Linked DNA regions of Homo sapiens: region 2 is linked to region 1. The links are contacts of gene promoters, found by promoter capture Hi-C in blood cells and fetal thymus (Javierre and others, 2016). All regions are on one chromosome and are shown on one strand. Each heading gives the region's core, a stretch centred on a gene start or on the middle of the fragment in contact. The rest is flanking DNA. Distances are from core to core; before and after follow the strand shown.

Region 1 (7,756 bases), core at 3,921-6,420:
TCAAAGCGCGGCTTGGTCTTGAGCGCTGGAACGCTGCCTCCAGCGGTGATCTCGGGCTTGGGTTGAATGACATGAGGGAACCAGGGAAAGGCGGGCAGCTGGAAGCGCGCATCCACCAAGCTGGACACCGTGCCCGGCACTTTGGAGAAAGAAGAGCGCGGCAAGTGCATGGCCGGGTAGCCCAGCGTCCACTGATGCAGGTGCACAGCGTGCAACGCGCTGAAACCATACAGGTTGGGCAGATGGTCCGAAGGCACTGTGGGCAGGCCGTTCACTGCCTGAAGGAAGGAGTAGTTGGTGAGCTGCAGGGAAGGGTGGATAGGCACCGGCGCCGGCAAGGTTTTGCTGCCCATTTCGGTAGTTGCAGTGGCTTCTCAATCCGGATCTGCAAAGAAAAGAAGAAGGCAGGGGCGTGGAGAGGAATAAAGAAGTTCAGGGTGGGTCGCCTTCCTCCTGAATTCCAGCCGAGCCACACCCTCTCCTCACACCCAGCGCAGGAGCTAAGAGTCTAAGACCCCATTCCCAAAACCCACTGCCCTCACAAAGAGGGTGGGAATGTAAGACGCAGGGGAGCCCTCTTTTCAGAACCCTCCTTGGTCTAAGGGCTCCCTCCAAATGGCGTCTGGCAGAGCCACACAACTTGATAGAGGGAAGGGCCTACTGTATGCAAGACACTGAGAAAGGAACAAGCAAAGGGAAACTGCCTGTCCTGTAGAAATTGACATCCAGGTAAGCCCGGGTCAACACAGAATCACAATCTCCTGCAAAGATAACAGGAGCTGGGGAACATACTTACACATTTATTTGCAGATAAACACAGAATTGCACACGTGGATTCAGACATTCTGAGGCAGAATTGACAAGGTGCAAAGACTGGGACAACCAATGTTTTATAGTACAACACTGGCTTTAAAAAAATGCAGGAACCCCTGAATCTCACACACACACACACACACACACACACACACACACGGGATCACATTGCACCCATGAAGAGCCTCACAGACAACACACATACACAGGCGCACAAATGCATGCACCTCCTGGCTCCCATTCATTAAGGTCTTCTGGCTGACCTTCGATTTGGCTTCCAGAAGCCCTGTCATCTTTCTCCTCAAAACCCTCAACTTTGACCTTAAATCTGCTTCCCTGCCTTAGTGTAAGTGAAACCTGTTGGCTCCACTCTCTCTGCAGCTGCTTGTGGACTGACTCTCTGCCTTGCCTTAGCCCTCGGGGACCACTTTGCTTTCAAGGAGGTTGCTAATATCCACATTCATTTACTCTGTCAAACAACTGCAGTCACAAACAAGGGGGTGTTAGTGCCCTCACTCCCCCAAAGAAAAAGGGAGCTGAGTCTTTGGGTTGTCAGCATGTTCTTGTGTGTTGTGAGCCCTGGGCAGGTGGGTATGCCTATGGGCAAGAACACTGAGGCCAGGCCTCCATTCCTGTGGTCTATGTACCTCCAAGTGCAAGGTTGGAGAGCTTGAGCAAGGCCAGAGGAAAGCCACACTGAAGTGACCAGGGGTTGGCATCTCCAGACCTCCTTGGCCATGGTCTCCAGCCTCCGTGGAGACATCTGAGCTCTGCAAAATGCTTTTCATCTCTACCTCCCAGACACTCCTAATTTAGATGTGTCCAGTGGAGGAAAGAACAGGGTGAGCAAAGTCTAAACTGTCAGGGAGCCTTGGGAAGCCCAAGCACTGAACTCCTGGCTCTTAGCTTGGGGCTACTTAAGAAGTCATTGTCACAGCAGGGTCCGTGGGACTCCCTTCTCTCTTGCCTAGCTTCAATCCCCTGCTGTTGACTTCTTCCTTTACCCTTCATTACTCTCCTCTTCCTAGGTCCTTTCCTCTAACATGGAGCAATTCCCCTTCCCTGGGATGCACTGGCCTCTGCTCTGCTCCCTAGTTTGGCGTGCCCCCTCCCCAGGTTGAGCTGACCCTCAGCCCAGGGCAAGGCCCAGGCATAGACTCCTCTGCCTTTCGCTGCAGCGAGGCTTTCAAAGCCTGGCTCTGTCCAGGGATGTGCAGTGCCTTTTCCCAGGAGGTATGAGGGCAATGTTGACCCAGGAAAACCTTTTCTCCTGGAAGCTGGCACGGGGGCCACTGGCTGTGTGGTGGGACCTAAGGAAAGAGGCCTTCCTGGGAATGGGGTGTAAAAACACCACGAGCTGGCCGTGATTTGCCTGCGCAGTTTAAATTAGCACTCGGATAAAAACCGTTGCAATGAATTTAGCCTCAGGGCAAGAGGAGGCATATTATCTGCGTGATCTGGCCTCTGAAGCAGAGCGCTGGTGCCGCTGGCAGCGCCGTGGCTTCAGCAACGGTCATCTCTACTGCGCCAAGCTCGGGTCGTGCCCGGGACAAATTGAGACTATCCCAGAGCTCGGACACAAGGAGAAGTAAATTTCAAATTGGGCCAGAGAGGAAGCTGAGACCCATTTGGGTTGGGGAAGGGGAAGGAGGAGAAGCCTGTCTAACTTCAAAGGTCGGCCTGGACTTAGGAGGGATGAGCGCTCTTTGAATTGCTGTCACCTCTTCTTCCCTTCCAGGCGCTGGAAATCAGATCCTTATCTCCGGGTCCCGGACCCCGCTGGGCGCCGCGGAGGCCTCCCCCTGCTCCTCTGGGTGCTTGGCCTATCCAAGGCCAAGCCAGCGGCCGTGGCTGTGGGACTCTGGCCTGCACACTGTCCCGAACCCGCTCCGTGCCTGGGTGGGAGAAACCACCAACCTCGCTAGGCCTTTCCTCGCCTTCTTCCTTAGAGCCAAGACCGGAGCCGTCTTGGGCTCCGTAGGGGGTGCCGGGAAGGGGGAGTGCTTGCAGCTATAATGGTTCCTGGGAGCCAACCTTTCCGGGCTATCTGCCCGATCTTGTTTTCCCCAACACTACATTTATTTTCTTCCGCGGCCCAGCCCGTTCCTTGTTTTCTGAAGCATTCGGAAGCCAGTGCTCCCCAGGCTCCCGCCAACGACTTTCCCCAGGACGAAATTCATTCGAAACGTGGCTCTTTACACTAGTATCAAGAATGGGCCGAAAGCACGATCCGGTTTCAGGAGGTCGGTTAAGAGAAAAACACAGTCTCACCCTAGCCTCTCCAGCCAGAAAGGATGAGTGAGCCCCCGGCTCCTCCGGCTCCGGTTTCCCAGACCGCGGAACCCCAGGGCGAATACTTTCGATCTTTAAACACAGGATGGAAAACCCTTCCCCAGGCTAGGCACCCATTCCTCAAACAGCTTGGGCCTCAGGACCTGCGGGAAAGAATAAGGGGACCCGACCACGCACAGCAGACGCAATTCGCGCTCGGGATCCCGAGTCCCTGCGCAGTGCGGGCACTCGCGTCCCTCGCGCGGTGGAGCGCCAATCCCAGGTCTGCGGCCAGTCCTATGCTGGGCATTAATGAAGTGTGCAGAGTCTATTAAAGTGGTTTATTCGGGGCTAATTGAGCGTGAGCAAGTTAACTGCTTGCATTAATGAGAACGGGAGCGAACTCCACGAGTTTGCGCCTGGGGGAGCCCAGCAGCAACCCAAGAAAATCAGCCTTGACATCGAATCTCCAACGAGTGGTGACAGGCGTCCGGACCCCCGTGAAGAGGACTGACCGGCACCGGATACTTCTATAGCATTCTCCCAACAAACGAGATCTAACGAACCCATTGGCAAGGCGGTCATCCGGCTGCACTTAAATGTCCGCTGCGTCCTCGGTGATCCATTCCCCAATCTTAATAAAACAGCAATTACCTCGAGGAGCCTGGGATGGAACATCTACACGCCGCCGGTCGCTGCTAGTCCCCTCCAGCGCTTCTCTTCCCTAGGGGGTTGTGAACCTGGGACACCTAGCCTTGCACGTGGTTTTGTTCCGCAGAGCCAATGCGCAGCTCTTAGCCTGGGTGAAATTTACCAAATTGTGGCAACAAAGAAACCCTTGCGGCTACTTTACACATTGAGAACCCAACCCGCTACTGCCTGAGCTGCTGAAAAAGGACTAAACGTGGTTTTTCATTCTTCTCCGAGACATTTCCGAGGAGAAATTAGTTCAGCAGGCAGCCCTTCACCCCTTTCCCCCTTCTTTCTCTCCTGACGGCTGGATTAGCGGACAGTCAGGGGAGTAACAGAACTTTTCCTGTCCCCAGCCCGGAGACCCTAGGGCTCCACAGAGTTTCCACTAGTGCTGTGTGTGGGTCTCGAATTGGAAAGCAGTGCTTGCGCCCACTGCATTGCCTCCCTGCACCAGGACAATCAAGGGTTCCGCTCCAGGCCTTGACGACACAGAGCAATCATCCTATGGAGAATATCCCTAAGTTAGAGCGCGAGTGCAAGGCGGGGTTCAGACTCGCAGCCCTGCGCTCTCGGGTCTAGGCGGCCTCATACTAGAGCGCAACTCCTCAAAAGACAAACTTGAACGAAAGCGCTACCGAGCTGGGGCATGCACCTGTCCCTGGCGCGGTCGGCTGCGGCTGTGGCCATTCACTCCCTCTCCCTTCCTTCTTCGTCAACCTGGGCGTCAGCCAGAGCTAGGAGCGCGTCTCAGGAAAGTTTGTGCCCGCTGAAGTTGCTCTGGTTTCTTAAAGGGGGCCCACAGATTGACTTTCAAAGTCCGTGGGCACCTCGCCCGTGATTCCGCAGAGCCGGGCGGGCTGGCCGCAGTAGCGGAGGCCCGCCCCCCTTAATCCCCAGCGGTCAGAGGCCGAGGACCCCGCGCAGGAAGTCCTGAGGCAGCACCCCCAACCACCCTGCTCTCACTTTCACAAAAGTCCTACAGCATTCGTTTGGCAAGAGCTTCCTTCAGGGGCATTGAGAGAGAGGAGGCACCCGCCGAGCAGTGACAAGGAACCTGGGAGTCCTGCCCGCATTCGCTTTGCTGAGCCCAGGCGCCCAGGACTGCAATTACCTTGTTCCGCAGAGGTCCTGGGGCTGAGCACGTCTCTGGGGCTTTAGCTGAAGGGGACTGGGGAAGCCGGAGGCCCTGGAGCCCACAGGCGCCCCTGGAGCTCTAGTGTCCCGACTCCTCTCCTGCCGCGGGGACTCCAAGCGCCGGACACGCGGGAGCGAGCGCTCAGCAGCCCCGGATCCTGCACGCCGGGGACGGTGAGCCTCGCTCGCGGCTCCCTCGCTGGGTCTGAACCAGGAGCAGCTGAGAACGTGCCGGGGAGAGGCCGAGCTCCGACTCACTCATCCCTTAGCACCGAGCCGCCTACTTATTTTAATCCACCACCCTCCCTCCTCCACCACCCCCACCCCCGCCCCTTGCCTCAGGATTCCTCCCCTCCCTCCCCTGCCCCCCAACCCTGCCCTGCGCCTGCGCAATGAAAGACAAAGTTTTTGCTGACCCGGGCAGCAGACTTTGGCAGCTGCTCTCGCTTGGACCCGGCCTCTCCCAACCTGCGTCCCCTCCTCTTCAGTCCCGCGCGACCCCTGCTGCCTTTTTAGGTCCAGAGCGGCACGCCTGGCGCACTGGAGGAAACGGTCCCTAGCAGATGAGAGCGGGCTGGCACCGCACGTTTCGAGGTCCTATACTTGGGCTCCTAGGACACAGCCCGTGCTCTTTGGGAGGAGGGAGGGAGGGGCAGTAGCTCTGTGCACCGGGATCCCCACACCGCGGCTTGGGTTTCAACGCACTTTGGCGCCTGACAGAGTCGCATCTCCTCCCAGAATCTCTTTCCAGAGGCGGCAGACCCCGAGTGTGGAGCAGCTCCTGGCTATCCAAGCGTGCTCGGGGCCAGGGTGTTAACCCAGGCAGCGCTGGTTAATTCCTGGTGCGGGAGGGCCAGGGTCACCGAAGCAAGCGAGCTGTAACATCTGAGTGCTTATGGTTGACCCCAGACCCTAAGTTCTGGAGTCCAGTAGAAAGAACAAAGAGTAGGGAAAGGAGGTCAGGAAAGTTATTTTCCTGGGGCCCAGAACTCTCTGAGATTTCACCCCAATGCACAGTGGCACTCTCTACTTACATATTTGTTTTAGGATGGATCAGAGTTTAGAGAGCCGCACTGGCAAGCTAGACGAGCTGCAAAGTTGTCAGTTCCAGGGCCTCTGAGTCAAGGAGCTGGTTCAGGTGGAGTTTTTAATCGGAAAGGAATCAGAGTTCTGGACATTAAAAATTCTATCTTCATTGCCTAGGCATTATGGAGGGTACCATCACCCCCTTGACTACCCATCTCTGAAAGCTGACCTCCGGCTGACCCCAGCCCAATCCCTCCCTAATGCCTTTCTGGAATACCCTTCCAGGCCTTGGGTTTGGCAAGGAGGAGTCACTGGTTTCCTGGGACTTGTGTGGGTCCAGATCACACAACTGCACTCTCTGCCTTTGCCCCAGAGTTGCTGCTGAGTGACTCTTGGAGCTGGATCCTAGATTCCGTGGGTCCCTAAGTACTGTACTGCTTCTCTCCCGAGGAGCTTCTGCTATCTCCAGCTTTGGTTTGCAAAGCTAATCTGATTTTCTTGGGAGGTGAAGAAGGTTGTAATACCTGACCTAGGGAGATGGTAATGAAGACTCCCCTCCCTCAAAGGCATAGTTGAAAGAGGATTTCCTTATATCCCCAGGCCTTTAGAACAGAATCTAGCCTCTAACCCCTGGGTAACTTCGTCTTGTTTGAGGAGGAGTAAGAGGGGGTGCAATCTTTGCTCCAACGAACAGCTTTTACCCAGTGCCTCAGGTTAGTGCAGAAGTAAGAGATTCACATAAGTTTGTCCATGCTCCTGGAATCTTAGCAGTTGCTAGGATGTAGTGACATTCTTGCTAGAGTAAGAACCCTTGGAAGAGAAGAGAGCTGAGATCACACCTCCTTCCTAGAGATTCCAGAACAGAAAGCTTCAAGGGCAAGGAAAGGCCTGGAGGGAAAGTCTACACAGGGCAATGCTGAACTTTGCTGGCTTCCACCTTGGGCACAGGGAGTGTGCTTGTTCCAGCCTCAGGCTCTCCAAATAAGCAAAGCTTGGGTAACCTCCATTACCAGCAGCAAAAGTTAAGAAGTAAAAAAAATGCCCACACGATAGGGCCTCTGGCTGTCCAGATCACTTAGGAATAGTGGCTGGTCATTCAGGTGGGATGGAACCTCCTGGGGTGTAAATACCCAAACTCCTGCTATGCACCCCTCATAACTCAGCTGGGCTTCTTTTATGTTTCTCCTTGTCTTTCTTTTCTAAAACAGGGCCCTTGGCCAATATGCCTCAGAACTTCCAGAAAGCCCTAAGTAGTAGGATCCCTAAAGAGCTCTCGGAGAGAAAGTGTTCCTGATCTTAAAGAAGAAACATGCAACCGAGTTGTTTCACCACTGCTTTGCCAGATTATCTTGAAAACTGATCCTGACTCAGGTCTCTAGAACTTAGTAGATGTAGAGCAGGTTGTAGAGCAGATGTAGAGTAGATGGAAGCAAGGTTGGTGTTGGTCCCCCAGGCTGTGCCTCCCAGAGAAATCATGACCACCTCTGCCTGGAGCTGGTCAGCAAGGCCACAACAGGACAAGGCCAGAGTGCACCTGAGTGCTAGTGACGATGGCTCTCCACAAGGGCTCACCTGTTTCAGAAGCCTGGCTTCAGAGAGGCGTCTCCTAGGTCGCTGACAATGCACAGCCTCAGAAAGCCAGGATAACGAAATTCAAGAATTGCTAGGAGCTGAAAAGTCCTCCATCCCGCTCTGAGCTCCCAAGGGGGTGACCCCCAAACCCTAGCCTTGACCTCCACAGGAGGCCAACCAAAGTCTGGGTTCCTTCTGGGCGGGGCAGGCAGGAAGAAGCCCAGGAAGCTAAGAATCCCTCCGGCCG
Region 2 (7,756 bases), core at 1,728-4,227, about 86 Mb after region 1:
CGAGCCAGGCCCGGCCGCGTACCCAGGCTTTGACGGCTGCCATTCAGGGTGGACGATGCCTAAAGATTCCACCGCTAATATTTTTTTTATTAATATTTTTTATTTTTTATTTCTGGACTGACTCAGATAAAGGAATTTAGAAAGACTGAGCACCAGCCGCTGCACTTCTCTGGACTTCTCTCCTCAATCCGTTGCCAACTTTGATTGAATGGGTGCTGTGGATGTGATTATATAATACTGCCATTTCCAAGCAGTGTTTTTGGTAGGTTTTAATAAACAGACTTTTCAAAAGACGGCAATATAGAATTGTTAGATCCGTTGTTGATCTAAAAATATTTGCTTTATATTTTCATTAAATGACTTCTTTTAATATTTTATTCAGAATACTTATGAACTGCTGCAAAACGGTAATTTATTTTTCCCCAGATCTTGTATTACGTGTTTTTTTCAGACGAGCACAAATCAAAATGAAATGAAAATATGGACAGTTGTTAGGTAATAAGGGTATCTTTTGATGTGATCATTTGATTGTAATTTAATTTGAGTAGTGATTCCGTAAGAGCTGATCGAGAAAATAAATTTGTTAGAATGAAATAGTCTGTGTCTGATGCGTAAACACTGTGTGGGAAGAAAAGAGTTCTTTAAGAAATATTTTTTTACTAATGAAAATCCCTAAGTAATAGCGTTGAGGAAGTAGAGCCTGCTCCACTTAAGGTACTTTTGGAAATCTAGAGTAAAGCATAGGCATTGCTGAGACAGCTAGTATTTTAACATAGTAGTCACTCCTCGATAATCCATAAATTCACAATATTTTTCTCTCCCTTAATTTTAGTGGATGTCTTTAGTGTTTTCAGGTGAGATTGCCTAAATATTAACCCTTTTCTTGGCGATACCTGTGTTTCTTATCGAAAGATTGAACGATATCACCAGTAAAAATGAGCCAACTGGCTATTAATGGTTAATACAGCCCCTCCCCCCAAGTTCAGCTTCTTTTTTCTTCTCCTGTCCCCCTCCCAACATGTTCCTGTCTCTTTTCTCTTTTTCTCAAGACTATAGTTGTTAGGAGTCGCTTATAAGTCTTATAAAATATTTTGATATCAATTACTTCCCATCAATAACTATATGTAATTAAATTTAAATTATTAAGCTTTTTGGGTTTTTTCCCCCCGTAATAAAAGAATATAGTTCTAAAATCCTGATTATGGTCCACACTGCATACCATCTGTGCAATTACCAACTCAGACTTAAGGTTCTATATTTCTGTGTTTTTGTCTCTCCCCAGTATGATTCTATATCTTCTTTACTGGTGCTGGGGGTTTTAGGTCACCTTTTACATAAACCCTGCAGAGTGGTCACATTGATCAAGTTAATGTTTCAATATTTACAATGTGGGAAAATGAAAGTGTAATGCCTCAGGTTGTGAGTACTTAAGACGCTAAAGGCTCGGCTTAGTTGAGTCCCTATATATTGTACTTAAAAGTATTTAGCAGTGGTAGAGCAACGATTTTATAGACAAATTCCCCCCAATCTCACTTAGCTGTCACTCACTTTTTTTCCTCCTTCTCTCATCTTCACTCCCTCTCCCTGTGATATCAATGCAGGGGTTAAAAAACCCGGAAAACTGTGAGAGCAACAAGGCACAGTTATTTCTCCCAGACAGGCCCTGTGTCACTTTCATAAATCAAACCCAGCCAGATGGCCATGTATTGGGTTGCATTATTTTAAACACCAAATCGTACTAAAAATCACAATCATTTTGATTTGTGAAATCTGAAAAAGGCCACATATATTAAACAGAGAGAAGAAAAAAATGAAGACAAGAAACCACAATTTACTTTTCTTTGCCTTCTTGTTCCCTATTTCTCTTGCTGCTGTAATCCCTATGCCCAGCAAATTTACAACCTGGAGTGGGGGTGGGGGAGAAGTTCACCATTTTGGGGGTGTCTAGAGAGGCAAGCAAAGAAGTCCTCATTGGAAAGCTGAGGACTGGTCAGGTTGTTTTTATGTGGTGGATACTACTGGCACGTGAGATGGAATCTTGTTTTTCCTATGGGAATGGTGGTGGTTGATTAGACAAGTAATAGGTCTATTAAAAAAATTTCAGGAGGTATCTACTTAGTTGATTTAGCTGACAACAAAAGAGCTAACATTAGATTTCACACTGTTTTCTATTAAAAAGCAAACTTTGCTGATTACTTTGGAAGAATCCCTGATTTGGGGGTAGCAGAGTAACTTTTAATTGGAGAAGCTGGGAAAGCAAACCCATTTTGTTTCATTATTTGCATTTTATAAAGTGAGCTAATGCTTGCACTCCATTTTTTTTAATCAACCCTTTCAATGTAATTACAAAATGAAATTCATGGTTGAAAAACAAAAGAGGGCAGATATAACTGAGAGGTTTTGTGCTAAGGCTTATATTGTTACACATGTAAATAATGAAAATATTGTTATATATCACCAGATCTTTTTAATGAATTTGGTCATTGTGTTCCTTTGCAGTGCAAGTGTCTTGTGCTTCGTAAAGTGCCCATTTGTTTCCTCCATTTCAATCCAACCCCCCCTCCCCTTCCAACCCAAAGGAAAGTGACAAAGTTCTGTTCCATCAGCCTTGCTAATCCCAAGCTAGGCCCACTTACAGTTTACAGTCTCCTGTGGCTCTTGATCAGTTGTCCAAGCCTCCGTCGCTCCCACAACCATCTTCCCCTGGCAAGTCTGTGCGATAAATCATTCAAGGTGTATTGAAAATAGTCACTTTGCTATTGTTGCTCTGCCTTTTTTTTTTTTTTTTTTTTTTTTTTTTTAGTACTTAGCCAAGGACTACTTCTTTGTTCCGAAGAGAACTGTTCGTTATTGATCTTAGCGATTCCCTTTGCTGCCCTGTAGCCTCCAGTGTTTGCTCATGACCATGCTCATAATCTGTTTTGTATGAATGGTTTTGAACATTCAGAGAATAATTGGTTCTAATATTAAATGCAGTATATACTATTGATAGTTTTATCGATAAGTGTAATATTTTAAATAATTTTAACAATTAAATTTGTTTTTTAAATTATATATTTGTAAAGTATTTATCCTGTTGAAAGCAACAATATATTGTTGTATTTATTCGTTTATTTTTGTAATAAATGATCAACCTCTTCAAGCTAAATCAAAAATGATACTTTTATATATTTATACAAAAATGTACTTTAAGAGACGGGCATATTTGCACTAATTTGTATGTAAATTGAGTAAAATCCATTAATAACTTGTAGCTTTCAGTACTAAATTGAAGGAAGAAACATTCTCTCCACATGGAGTTTAGTTTGCCCAAGTTCCAGGGTAATTAATCAACTCTAAAATGGATGCAACAAGTATTGGCACTGGATGCAGACTTGAAATTAATTATTTAAAAGGTGGACCTGATTGTTTTTTTAAGGCAGAAAGACAGAAATTAAAGAATTTTCTTCTTTCATGAAATGCACGTGGCTGGCTGCAAGGATTAGAGCAGATGCTATGTTTCAGTGATAACCTAATACCTGACTGTGCTCAGACATCTACGTTGGGAAAGGGAGTTGTAATAAGAGTTGGGAGTTTGAGGTTATCAGTGACCCAGAAACAAGGTGATGTGAAAAAAGAAGAGTTGTGCTAGACTGAAGAAAAAAAATTAGATGATCTATAAAATGACTGTGAGTGGAGAAGCCCTTTGTCCTAGTCCAGCTACTAACAGCATAAGCAATCAGCACAGGTGTTGTTGTCGTTGTTGTTGCTGCTGCTGCTGTTGTTGTTGTTGAGTGACGCATGTGAGAAGCGTGGGGCAACCTCTCAGGCTCTCCAAGTTCTGTAGGTCGGTTGGTCATCTCAGCTCCTCAGGGCTGCTGGTCTGAGGGCCTGAAGTTCACCCATGTGACCTCCTGGGTGCAGGATCCTCACGGTAGGCTTGACGTTGATTTCAATAAGGAAAGCAGAAGCCTCTGCGTTTGCATCCTGAACTTTGCAGCCTAGGAAAGGAAATAGTGCGCAGGCTGGAGGAGCTGGGGGTGGGGGCAGCGGAGATAGCAGGAGGGGTACTTGTGTAATCAGATTCTTTGATTTTGTTAGCCTGGCTCATGGCCTATTAATTAGATTACTCTCTCTTTCATTCTTGATTTCACATCCGTGTTTGTTCCTGTATCCTAAAATGCGGGCGCGAGCTTGGCGAGCAGGAGCCTATGATGTCACTGCCGGCCAGAGGCGGCCGCCTGGCCTTCTGGCGGGCTGTGCGCTGCGTTCTTGATGAGTCCGGTCTTCCTCAAGGAAGAGTTGGCTCTGGAAGTGACCTCAGAGGGGTCTGGGAAGAGGGCAACAGTCATTCTCTTGGCGGCACGATGTGTGCGCTAGTGTGTGCGCGCGCGTGCCGTGTGCATGTGGGTGCGCGTGAGGGGAGGGGGAAGCGGAAATTCGCAGTCTGGACCCCGAAGCCCTAGGGGTACAGGCGACGGGGTCAGGTGTAAGGCCTGCCTCCGGTGAAAACCCCGGATCAGAAGAGGCGGAGGGGGAGGGGGACCCGAGGCAGCCGGGCGTCCAAAGCTCGCTTCTCTCCGGGAGGGAGGGCAGGGCTGGGCGCGGAGGTGGGGCGGTGGCGGTCGCGGTGGGGCGGCCGGGTCCCTGCTCGGCCCGGCACGGCCGGGCGGCCAGACTGTGGCAGCTGCTGTGGGTCCCACAAGTTGTTTTCCTCGTGGCGACCATTCAGCAAAACGCACGAACCTTTCTCAAAGATTTAAATTTCGCGGATGAATTACCATACACCCGTTGCTTAGCAACTAAATTCAAGCAGGGCTAAGAATATGCAAGCTTTTTGTATTCTCATTAATAAAAATGCCACTCTGACACAGCAACCCGACTTTGGATCACTGCAACTTCTGTAAAAGCCGTAGGAGAATACAAACCGATCCTGCCTTTCAATTACAGATCAAAATGGCTTGAAACGCGATGTTTTGTTCATCTATCTTCCTAAAAAGCGATGGAAAAAATAACGGCTTTCAAGAGCAATAGTAAATTCTTTTTTTTTTTAATGGAGTTGTCTATCGGGGTTACTGATAATTGTCAACTGAACCCTTTTGAAACACAGGTTTAAATAAACCTTTTCATAAACATGTCCACTCTCTCCCTCAGTCCCTCCTACCCTCTGATCCTGTTCTTCCCCAGCCTCATAATAACAATTATTATTATTATTATTATTATTATTATTATTATTATTATTATTATTCTGGAAACGCTCAGGCCTGTGGAGCCCTAGAGACTAAAGGGCAGTCAGCAGAGTAATGAGCAAACCTGGGGGCTGGAGAAAGTCCAAGGAATTGAGGAGCGAAGGAAAGGGAAACTTCTGAAAGTTTCCCTGGAAGGTTGAGGGAGTTGCTGGAGGCTGGAGTCGGCTCAGGTTCCAGAGGTTCTGGCGATAACTTTCTGCAGGGCTTGTGGAAGGAAAGGTAGAAATGCCTGTGGGTCTCTGCGCGACGTTTGCGGATTTTCCGTTCTGGGGGTGCAGCCTCCTCCCAGGAGAATTGAGTTGCCGCCCACGCTGCTGACGGTGGAGTTCAGAGGGGCTGAGTTCAAGGCCTGGCTGACCCGGGCTTTCTCTGAAATCCACCTCTCTGCTGCCCAGGGCCCTGGAGCCCTGGAGCGGAGGACAAAGTAAAGACGGATCTGGACCCGTGACCCCTTGGGTCTTCCCGGACTGTGGCCCAGCCCACAGACCAGGGCCCGAAATTGAGGTGGGGGGCGTACTCTGTTTGTCTTCCCGAAGGATGCGGCGCGTGGAAGGAGATGCGCTGACTTGTTCCAACCCATAACCTTTCGCTCGGGTCCCCATGTGCGGGCAGAAGAAGTCAGAGCGGAACAGCCTAGTGCACTGGCAGGGCTCATTGTCTGGGAAGACACCGAGGTCTAGGCAGCTGGGACTGCGGAGTGGAGGCAAGGCCGGAGGCGGCCGGCGGCTTTGTGGAAGTTTCGCGCCGCCAGGCCCTGCGCGCCGCACGGGGCGGTGGAGTTCTTGGGCAGCCCCCGGCGCTTGGCCCACGCCTCCGCTTCCCGCGTGTGGGAAACTCGAGCACCCTACAGGCACCAGGGTAAACTGCCTGTGCCTGGCCCGGTGAGGGTCGCTCCCCCAGGCCCCGTCTCCGCCCGAGGACTGCAGGCCTAGGCCTGCGGGGAGATCCTGAGACCGCGGTGTGCGGGCGCCGGCAGCAGGGCAAGGCAGGGACTGTGCCCAGTCCGCCCGCCAAGGAGATCGCACGCCGGCTTCGCTTCTGAAGCTGCAGACGGAGGCCGTGGTGAGCCTTAGAAAGATCCCGGGACAAAGGCGAAACCCCAGATTAATCCCCATAAGATTCCTAGGAGCCATTCCCCCTTCCCCCCGCACTTTGGCAAACATGAGAACTTTAGAGGTGCCGCGTCCCCAAGTCAGCCTGGACGCTTAAACCCCACAACTGACTCCATGTAACCCGATTTCTTTCTAGTGAGTACCAAGAAACAGTGGAACTGAAACCATAAGTGGAAATATTTGCTGTATTATAACATGCTCAGAGGCATTAGAGTTGGTTTTTTTTCCAGTAAAACATACATAATAAACAGGGAGCCATTTATTTACAAATACAAATGTCCTAGACAAGCCACATTCCATGTATGTAATTCATTAATGGAATTTGTTCATTTTTCTTCCTTTGGAAACAGAATTTTTGCTTTAAAAAATGGCTTGGTCTTGGGGAGGAGGTGGGTGGGAGAGTAGTTTACCTGATCTTTGAAAAGGGAGAAGTGTCCAGCCAATTCCTGTTTCGAAAGAATGCTAAACAATATAAAATAACCTTTTAAAATAGATGGAGAGGCTTTTGTTTTCTTTTTTACTCTTCAGAAAAGAAGTTTGTTAGTTGTAGTTGCTGTCACAGAATTGCCCAGTGGAAATGGACTGTTAATATCACCCTAGTTGACACGTGCGTGTGTGTCTGTGTGCGCGCACATGCGTGTGAACAAAATTGCATTTTAAATGTCTTAAGCTGGATGGGAATCTACCAAAATTGTATCTGTAAAATATACTCAATTGCCACAGTTTTAGAAATGTCTGTGGAAATGTCCCCACCGGCCTGCCTCCTTCCTGAGAGTTTATATCTAGGTAGAGTGTTAGGTGATGACTTCCTAGTCACCGGTATGCCAGGATTAGTTACCTGGCGAAACTGAGTCTGGTCTTTAATTCAAGAAGTTTTCTCTAAGTGAATCTCCTTTCCCTATAAGTTGATAGAGGGGTGTTGTTTGAGGGAGAGTTGTCCAGAGGAAGGTGGAATCAAGTGTGAATCATCTGTGTGACCCAGTGAGCAGTGAATAAATATGAAAAGTGCAGAATACACCTGAGGTATGTCTGGAGCTTTGTAAGGTCCTAACACTAGACATGATTACATAGGACAAAAAGAATGATCACTGCTGCCCATGTTTCTTTATTGTAGCTACAAAATAATGGAATGGACATTGAGATGGAAGCAAAAACTTTTTAAATTTTTTTTCTTTTAAAGAAAAGGGACAAGAGGTGTTCTGATGAGCTTCCTGGGAGACCACACATTAGCTCTGTCCTGCAGGACTGCCTCTCCGCATAAGGCAAGCCCATTAAGTCGGCTGGAACATTGCACACTGAAATAGAATAGATGTTCATTTCAAAGAATTTTCCTTGAGCCAGCAATAAAATAAAAGGTGACAAAACCCACCACGCTCATTGTACCCAGGTTTAGACAGGGAAACTTCCAGGTGTGAG

What was found. Contacts are between HindIII fragments. The CHiCAGO score rates a contact against its expected background, and 5 or more counts as called.
Region 2: a contact is called between a fragment that was not itself captured here and the fragment with the promoter of OSR1 in region 1, in 1 of 17 cell types (total B cells). The highest score is 16.1, in total B cells.

Annotation. Positions count from the first base shown.
Region 1 is chr2:19,353,453-19,361,208 of GRCh38, forward strand. OSR1 (odd-skipped related transcription factor 1) reads right to left here and starts at 5,171. Exons shown (of 3, transcript NM_145260.3): 1 at 4,889-5,171; 2 at 1-385. The coding sequence starts at 353. RefSeq lists enhancers at 1,919-2,884, 2,885-3,849, 4,515-5,043. The HindIII fragment of the contact is 8,359 bases long and covers 1-6,803 here.
Region 2 is chr2:104,857,981-104,865,736 of GRCh38, forward strand. It overlaps POU3F3 (POU class 3 homeobox 3), which reads left to right. Exons shown (of 1, transcript NM_006236.3): 1 at 1-594. It overlaps LOC124908045, which reads right to left. Exons shown (of 2, transcript XM_047446880.1): 2 at 5,261-7,635. The coding sequence starts at 6,391. The coding sequence ends at 5,261. It overlaps LINC01159 (long intergenic non-protein coding RNA 1159), which reads right to left. Exons shown (of 2, transcript NR_110373.1): 2 at 7,517-7,756. Among named protein-coding and RNA genes, the nearest start is that of POU3F3, 7.7 kb to the left of the region's middle. The HindIII fragment of the contact is 3,665 bases long and covers 1,146-4,810 here.